Linked DNA regions of Homo sapiens: region 2 is linked to region 1. Evidence: promoter capture Hi-C in 16 types of primary human blood cells and fetal thymus (Javierre and others, 2016). All regions are on one chromosome and are shown on one strand. Each heading gives the region's core, a stretch centred on a gene start or on the middle of the fragment in contact. The rest is flanking DNA. Distances are from core to core; before and after follow the strand shown.

Region 1 (4,066 bases), core at 1,113-3,612:
GACTAGTTCCTGTTGGTCTTATCTATGTCTTTGCTGTTCGGACTCTCCTCGTTCCTTCCCATTTTCTGAGCCTGGTTCTCTAGACTTCTTGTTTACTATTTGGGCTACCTAATTTTCCTCCAATGAATCCCCTTTCTGCTCAAAACAAAAGAAAATCCAAGACAACAACACACTGAAGTTTCATTGTTTTGTTTTTTATCTATAAAGTTAATATAAAAAATTTGAACTTACAGTTGGACATGGTGGCTTCTGTAATCCCAACGACTCAAGAGGCTGAAGTGAGAGACTGGCTTGAGTTCTGGACCAGCTTAAGCAACATAGTGAGAACCCACGCCTAAAAAATAAGTAAAATAAAAAGTTAAAAAAAGTTTGAACTTATGCTTAGTAATAAAGCATAAGTTATTTTTGTTTTTTTTGTTTTTTTTTGAGACGGAGTCTCGCTCTGTCGCTCAGGCTGGAGTGCAGTGGCACGATCTCAGCTCACTGCAACCTCTGCCTCCTGGGTTTAAGTGATTCTCCTGCCTCAGCCTCCCGAGTAGCTGGGACTACAGGCATGTGCCACCACGCCCGGCTAATTTTTCTATTTTTAGCAGACACAGGGTTTCGCCATGTTGGCCAGGCTGGTCTCGGACTCCTGACCTCAGATGATCCACTGGCCTCGGCCTCCCAAAGTGCTGGGATTACAGGCGTGAGCCACCGTGCCCGGCCTAAAGCATAAGTTTTAACCAACTTTATATGTTGGGGACCTTCAACAGATTTCGTTTGAAAAAGGACTCCACTCTTTTTCAAAATTTAATTTGGTCAGGTGCAGAAGCTCACACCTGTAATCCCACCACTTTGGGAGGCCGAGGCGGGCGGATCACTTGAGCCCAAGTGTTCAAGACCAGCCTGGGCAACATGGCAAAATTCCACCTCTACAAAAAATACCAAAAAAAGCAGCCGAGTGTAGGTGGCACACACCTGCAGTCCCAGCTACTTGGGAGGCTGAGGGTGGGAGGATCTCTTGAGCCCAGGAGGCAGAAGTTGCAGTGAGCCGAGATCGAGCAGCTGCACTCCAGCCTAGACAACAGTGAGATCCTTTCTAAAAAAAAGAAAAGAAAAAGAAATTCTATAAAGTTCAAGTTCTATAAGGTAAAGTTCAACTTCAAATTCTGTAAGGTAAAGTTCAAGATTCGGCATATGTTGGTGGGTGCTCAATGTTCAATAAAAACTGGGGAATAGGCCTGGTGCAGTGGCTCACGCCTGTAATCCCAGCACTTTGGGAGGCCGAGGCAGGTGGATCACGAGGTCATGAGTTTGAGACCAGCCTGGCCAACATGGTGAAACCCCGTCTCTATTAAAAATACAAAAATTAGCCAGGCGTGGTGGTGCACGCCTGTAATCCCAGCCACTCGGGAGGCTGAGGCAGGAAAATCACTTGAACCTGGGAGGCAGAGGTTGCAGTGAGCTGAGATTGCACCACTGCACTCCAGCCTGGGCAACAGAGTGAGACTCCGTCTCAAAAAAACAAAACAAAACAAAACAAAAAACTGGGGAATATAAAATTTCGCCATACTATCCTACATCCCCCTTGAGTTTTTAGCAACGATAGTAATTGTTATATGATGCTTAACGCGTAATTACTGTACCTCATTTACATAAGGTGGTTTCAGACACATCATCTTGTTTATGTATGGCCTCTCCAAACAAAATGAGTTTAGGACAAAAGAGGAAATCCTTTTCTAAAAGCAGTTTTGTCCGTAAGTTACTGCCTCAAGAGGCCGCAAAGTTTGAGCAAAGCTTTTCCGAAAGTAATGGATTGGTAATGGGTGACTGAGGTCCACAAAGCTCGATAAGAGGCTCCTGGTCCGTCTACCAGGTTCTTAGAGGGAGGTGCCTTTGTGTGTTCGGACGCTGCACTGAGACACGTGAGGTTTTTAAATAAACTTTTGATTTTGAAATCTCTGGGACTAATTTTAAACAGTGAACCCGACAGCGAGGACCTACACACAAAAGTGCTCCCGGCCTTACCAAACAACGCAGACCCGGGGTCACGCCTCGTCCTGTTTCAACAACAACACCCAAGGGCTTCCCTGGAGCCCAGGGCGTGGGAGGGAGACTTGGGTTTGAGTTCTGCACCTTGCGGAGGTGGTTAGTTATTTAATTGTCTTCCACCTGAATTTTCCTCAGGCCCAAATTGATGAGACCTCCCCGAATCCCTCCCCTGCCCGAGTTACTAATGACGGCGTGAGGTCACACCTGGCCACTCAAAACCAGCTCCTTGACGCAGGTGACCCTCCGCCTCGCGCAGCTCACGCTTCCCATCCCCCGGACTCCACCCCCAGCGGGAGGCCACGGGGCCGCTGTGCGCACGCGCCGCCGCACACCGGGGGCTCTCGGGCACCCGCGCGGCGCCGGTTGGCCTTCCCGGCGCTCGCCCGGGGGCGCGCTTGCGCGCCAGCGGCTGCGGACACCAGCCTGCGTCCCCGGCGCGGCGGGCCATGGAGGCCCTGAGGAGGGCCCACGAGGTCGCGCTCCGCCTGCTGCTGTGTAGGCCGTGGGCCTCGCGCGCCGCCGCCCGCCCCAAGCCCAGCGCCTCGGAGGTGCTGACGCGGCATCTGCTGCAGCGGCGCCTGCCGCACTGGACCTCCTTCTGCGTGCCCTACAGCGCCGTCCGCAACGACCAGTTCGGCCTCTCGCACTTCAACTGGCCGGTGCAGGGCGCCAACTACCACGTCCTGCGCACCGGCTGCTTCCCCTTCATCAAGTACCACTGCTCCAAGGCTCCCTGGCAGGACCTGGCCCGGCAGAACCGCTTCTTCACGGCGCTCAAGGTCGTCAACCTCGGTGAGTGGCGACTGCCGCGCCCACGCGGTGAAGCCCGCCCGGCCGGGACGGCCCCTCAGCCACCGAGCACGTGACGAACGCTCGCAGGCCGGTAGAGTCCCGCGGGAGTCAGCTCTGCCTCCCGGCGCCGGCTTCGCCTGGGGTCCTTTGTACTCCTCGCCCAGGGGGTCCCCAGCTTGCTGAGCTCCTGGCACCCGAAGCCGTTCGCCTGCTGCGGGCGCGTCCTCGGGCCTAGGGAGGGGCGGGTCGCCCTCCTGTCCTGCCCATGTTAACCAGAGTAGACCCCTGGCCTGGGCAGTAAGCCAGGGGGCGTCAGGAAACGCCCCCTAGAAAGTGGCTCTGAAGTTGACATCCGTCCTACTGCATGGCAGGACTCATTCCCGTGAACATCACTTTGCAGCTGCGTTTATGTTGCAATAACTGGAACTACTCTTTTAAGTTTCTTTTGTTTTCTTTGTATGAATTCCCGGCAAGTTCGTTTTACTAAAAGCACCAAAGGTTTTCACCAGACATAACAGCTTCCTGAGGTGCTAGGCCTAAAAGATTTTTAAAGATCTTTAATATTTGTATATTTTCATGGAGACGCCCTGAGGATGTTTACTGTCACTAGGTGTTTATTTTCTTTTGGTTTAATGACAGAAGAGGGAGGTACGAACATGGACATGGGTGTATCTTTTATAGGTCAGGGGAAAACAGAAGGCCTCAAGATGTTTTGAACTTACTAATAGCTGGCATAAAATCAATCTAGATTTCAGTGATTCAAAATCTAGCCATGGAGCTGAATGAACCATGTTACCCAGCCAGGTTTTTAAAGCCAGGATTAAAACTAAACCCTGCGCAGCCGTACTACTAATACTATTACATAATCTGATCGTCCATTAAGGTTAAAAATAGTCTGTGTATTTGTGCTTATAATAACACATATGTCAGTCGTGGGCTTTTTGAGCCGTTACTCCACTGGACTGTCCTGTAAGGAGATAATTGTTTAGCAACGTGTTATCCTTTAAAAATGCCTCTTATTATTTGGCTGATGGACTGTATAGAGCATGCCCACTACTTTGGAGGTTGGTTGAAGTTGAAGGGTGAGGTGACTTAGGAAATTCAATTCGAAATTATTTGGAAAGACTGGAGTGTTAACTAGATTCGAGAAGTATAAGTTTATTTTAGCATTTTTCATAAGTAAGAAATCATTCTTCCCTAAAGAATAATAGGTTAGGAAAAGCATAACGGGAGAGTTATA
Region 2 (4,066 bases), core at 856-3,355, 230 kb after region 1:
AAAAAGCTCCTCTACAGAGAGCAAAGCATAAAGTGAGACTTCCAAAATTGCTTTTTATCACCAGAGCCATTGGCTAAATAGTTGAGGACCCACAAGCAAACTTCTACATTGGCAATTTCCTTTCTAGCATCATTTTTCACAGTCATAAGTCATGTTATAAGAATTTTCTAATTGCTAATGATGGTCCTTGTAAGGAAATATATGATAAATGTTACTATAATAATACCAAGACCTAACTGGTACTTGTGGCTGCCTTCTATGAAGTCATTCTTCCCCATTTAAACACATAAGAGTCTGCCTTACATCAGAATGAGACGTAACTATCCCCTGTTAGTGTGGTTTTAAATCTTGAATCTAACAGCTAATGAAAGAAAAAAAAAAATCTATGCCCAGAAAAGGGAAGAGGTTCATCTATCAAAATGCAACTAGTTCTAGAGACTGATTAACAAAGTGTGTGACTGGAACAATTACTGTTCTCTCATTGTCCCAAAGTACTAGTTAGACATAGAAAACACTCAACACACGCAAAATGTATAAGCAGGAATGAGGGCTTGGACAAGTTAGTTATAAACAGCATTTCATATGTTGTGAGGTGCAGGCAGTACATCAGCCCTAACAATATTATTGCGTTCCTCTGAACTCTGCTCTCACAGCTAAGCATTTGGAAGGCAGACCCAGAATAAAGATAGGCATTCACAAAGCCAACATTTTATATTGAGGACCCTTGGTTCCACTTTTAATGTGCTATAAACTAGGGGCTTCACTTTTTCATGAACTGTGTGCAAAAGCAGAGGCAATGACTGGAGGTTGACTGTTTGGATCTGTTTTATGGTTGCTGTGCCTATACAGTAATGTGATCTTGAAAAAGGTAAACAACAAAGAGTTTAGCAGTGAAAAATATGCCTAATATAAATACAGCCGAGTACATGGCAGTTCAGAATTTTAAAAATATGACTGTGGCATTAAATTTTCTGGTGGAATTAACAGAGGAACATAATACAGCCTTTATGGCAATATATCTGAGACAGAAAAAGGAGATAATACATCTAACTCTATGGTCTATGTGGCATTCATATAAAGAAAAGCACAGTAGCTTTATTTAATTGAGAAAATGAATCAATTACAATGATGTTGCATCATCAAATTCTTGTGAAATAGAAGATATAAGTCACTGCATTGTGTAACTGTTAAAAAGTAATTGAGTATCTTAAGCATTTTGAATCAATTTCAGGTACTGGCACTGTTACCTTAATACAAAATTTATGAAGATGATTTCATATAATATGTTGCTATCAAAACTGTATAATAAAACCTGATAACGTCTCTCTTTAAAAACCTGGGCAAAACAGTATAGTTATAAGATTATAAAAAAAGACTTTGATATTGCTGTTTTTCTCTTTCTTTTAATGAAGAGCAAGCATAAATAGTACAGTTTTAAGTTGACTTAGACTAAGCTTTTAACCTGCAAAATAGGGCAAACTAGAGACTTTAAGACCTCAGTTCATGAGGAAGTTTCCTCCCCTCAGTTAATCTGATTCACACAACTCATATGTTTCTGGGGACAGTGTTTCATAATCCATTTCTGAATTCATTTCAAAACCTCTCACTTAGAATGTTTGCTGCATGTTCTCCTCAGAGAATGTTGTCATCCCCCTGACTCTTGGAAATTTGTGAAACACATTCTCTTTGATGTCAGAAATGGATTTCTGATTCTTTATTCATTACAAATAACTCCGTTGTTGAAGCAGATATATCTTACTAGGAATGTAGGGGTGGGGGGAGTATCAGTGTGTGCTTGAAAAAAAAATAAAAGCAAACTCCATAGATATCTCATGTCATAGGAGAGGTTATCCAGGCTTTTCAGTATTTTTTTAAAGGTAGTTTGGCTTGTTACTGAAATTCTTAACCACTTCCGGGTGGTGGTTACAGCTCCGCCTTCCCTTGTAATGTAAATCTTTACCTGCAGAATCTTGTCTGGAAATACTCATGGACTGGAGAAACCAGAAGAAGCAGTAATTCAGGACAACATCAAGCAGGGACTATCAACATAGACTAAGCCAGTCAACCTGGGACAGAGGTTTCTGAAAGTAGTGATTGGGGAGGAAGTGATGAAAAGCCAATAAGAGCAATGAGTGGGCGCCGTGTTCATTTGACAAATATATGGGAAAACACTTTTTAAAACACTCAGGCAGTAGGAAGAAGGGTGTGCTGATCAGCCACATGGATGCAAAAGAAATGCATAAACATAGCTGCAGCTCTTGAGAAACTCACAGTCTAGGTGAGAGGAACCAACATGTCAAAATGGATAATTTATCAACAATACCATACCAAGTATAAATGTATACAAATACAGTTGTTTTCAAATAACTCTATGATCATAGGCAAGTGTAATACAGATGCTGGAAGGAAAGGAGCTCTGGAGGAGCCCCAGCACCACCACACCCTGGCGCTGAGGCCTCAGGCCCGGACACTGTCCTCTGATAGGCCCAGCTTTCCCATCATAGAATAAAGATGATCATCCCTGCCAAACTCAGGGTGGTTGTACAGATCAAATGAGTTTGTATATGGGAAAGAATTTTTTAAAACACCTTTAAAAACATATAAGGGATTATTACTAGTTTCCCTGTATTTTACCGGCTGGTTGGAGCCCAGTTATCTCAGAAAACAGTTGACCCATCAGTATTTGGTTCCTGAAAAGTTCTCTGTTAGAAAATGTAGTACCTGGAGTTTCATTTTCATTGAGTTTATAATAACTGTAAGCTTTATTTTTCCTGGATGGGGAGGCACTGAAGTGTTTAGTACTTTAATGACTAAGTGGATGTTTTATTAATTTTTATGTCACGTTTTAGTAGCTTTGTAAGAAATGCAGTTTATCAGTGTTAAATGTGTGAGCAGCCTGCCTTCAGAATGTTGATCAGAAATGCGCTCTTACTGGACTCTGCATTTATTCCCTAAAAATCAGTGTGAAACTTCCATGAATTTGATTTTCCCAGAGAGCATTGCTGCCCTGGAAACAGGCAGAAGGAACTTTGGAAAAGGTGGAGTTGTTACCCCACTCCTAAGTTAGGTGCAAATACTTCAACTACATAATTAAAGTTTTCCTCACAAAATAGGGGATTGTGAGCAGACACTGGCAGGAATCCAAAATTCTAATTTCTGACTATGATTTAATTTCAATTTTAAATAAATCGGTTTTTAATTTAAAAAGAGTGAGCTTCGTAACATTAGCAATGATTGCAACATTAAGCCCAGTGTTCACAATCTAGCAATATAAAACATTATTTATATCTGAATCGTAAACAGCCTTTTGAAATGGATTATGGTTTTTCTCCCTATTCTAATACAACCTGGAGGGTACTAAAAAGTGTTGTGTGAAATTAACATTCTGCTGACTTTCGCCTATAAATGAGAAGCGAGCTATTAACATTTGTGTATTTTCATTATGTAAATTGTGTTAACACATGCCCACAAATTGCCACCAGCAATGCAATAATTTTCTCTCAGTGATCATAATGTGTCCAAGTGAGTCATTTTGATTATGACATGCTAATTACATATTGCCTTTTTTCAGATTCAGAAAAACCAGGGATCTTTAATGGTAAGCTTTATGAGTTCAGAAAAAAATTCACTTTTCTTTTTCCTGATGGCTGCTTCCTTTGCATGCTTGAATGCCTTGTTTTAAACTTAGCAAATTGCATTTTGAAGAAAATGCAAACCTTTAACTGCCTGTATTAGATTAGGTACCATTAGAAATAATAGAACCTCCTGAGCATCAATGTTTTTATAAGAGTTTGCTGTTGTTGATTAATCTTGCTATATTTTATTGCATTAATGATTTTTTCTTTCCACTCCACTGTAAAGATATTGCATAGAGGCTAATACTTTTTCCTCTCTTCTTTTCCATTGCAGCCTCTCCAGCTTCTGCAGTGCATTGTTGATGAGGTGAGGCATCGTCTTATGTGCTTTCACTCCTAAAGTCATTCCTAATGGTGTGGAAAGCTTATATTTTGTTTCCTAATGAAGCACAATGCCCAACATCCTTGGAGCAAGTTGTGTTGTATGGCTC

What was found. The method cuts DNA at HindIII sites, captures the fragments that hold promoters and counts their contacts. A CHiCAGO score of 5 or more calls a contact.
Region 2: a fragment that was not itself captured here is called in contact with the fragment with the promoter of C15orf61 in region 1 in 1 of 17 cell types (naive CD4 T cells); the score reaches 6.4 in naive CD4 T cells.

Annotation. Positions count from the first base shown.
Region 1 is chr15:67,518,769-67,522,834 of GRCh38, forward strand. C15orf61 (chromosome 15 open reading frame 61) reads left to right here and starts at 2,363. Exons shown (of 2, transcript NM_001143936.2): 1 at 2,363-2,826. The coding sequence starts at 2,481. IQCH-AS1 (IQCH antisense RNA 1) reads right to left here and starts at 3,076. Exons shown (of 6, transcript NR_040052.1): 1 at 2,751-3,076; 2 at 232-334. RefSeq lists enhancers at 1,950-2,029, 2,670-2,789 and a silencer at 2,210-2,559. The HindIII fragment of the contact is 4,154 bases long and covers 1,778-4,066 here.
Region 2 is chr15:67,744,660-67,748,725 of GRCh38, forward strand. It overlaps MAP2K5 (mitogen-activated protein kinase kinase 5), which reads left to right. Exons shown (of 22, transcript NM_145160.3): 18 at 3,572-3,598; 19 at 3,910-3,942. Among named protein-coding and RNA genes, the nearest start is that of SKOR1, 79 kb to the right of the region's middle. The HindIII fragment of the contact is 1,306 bases long and covers 1,453-2,758 here.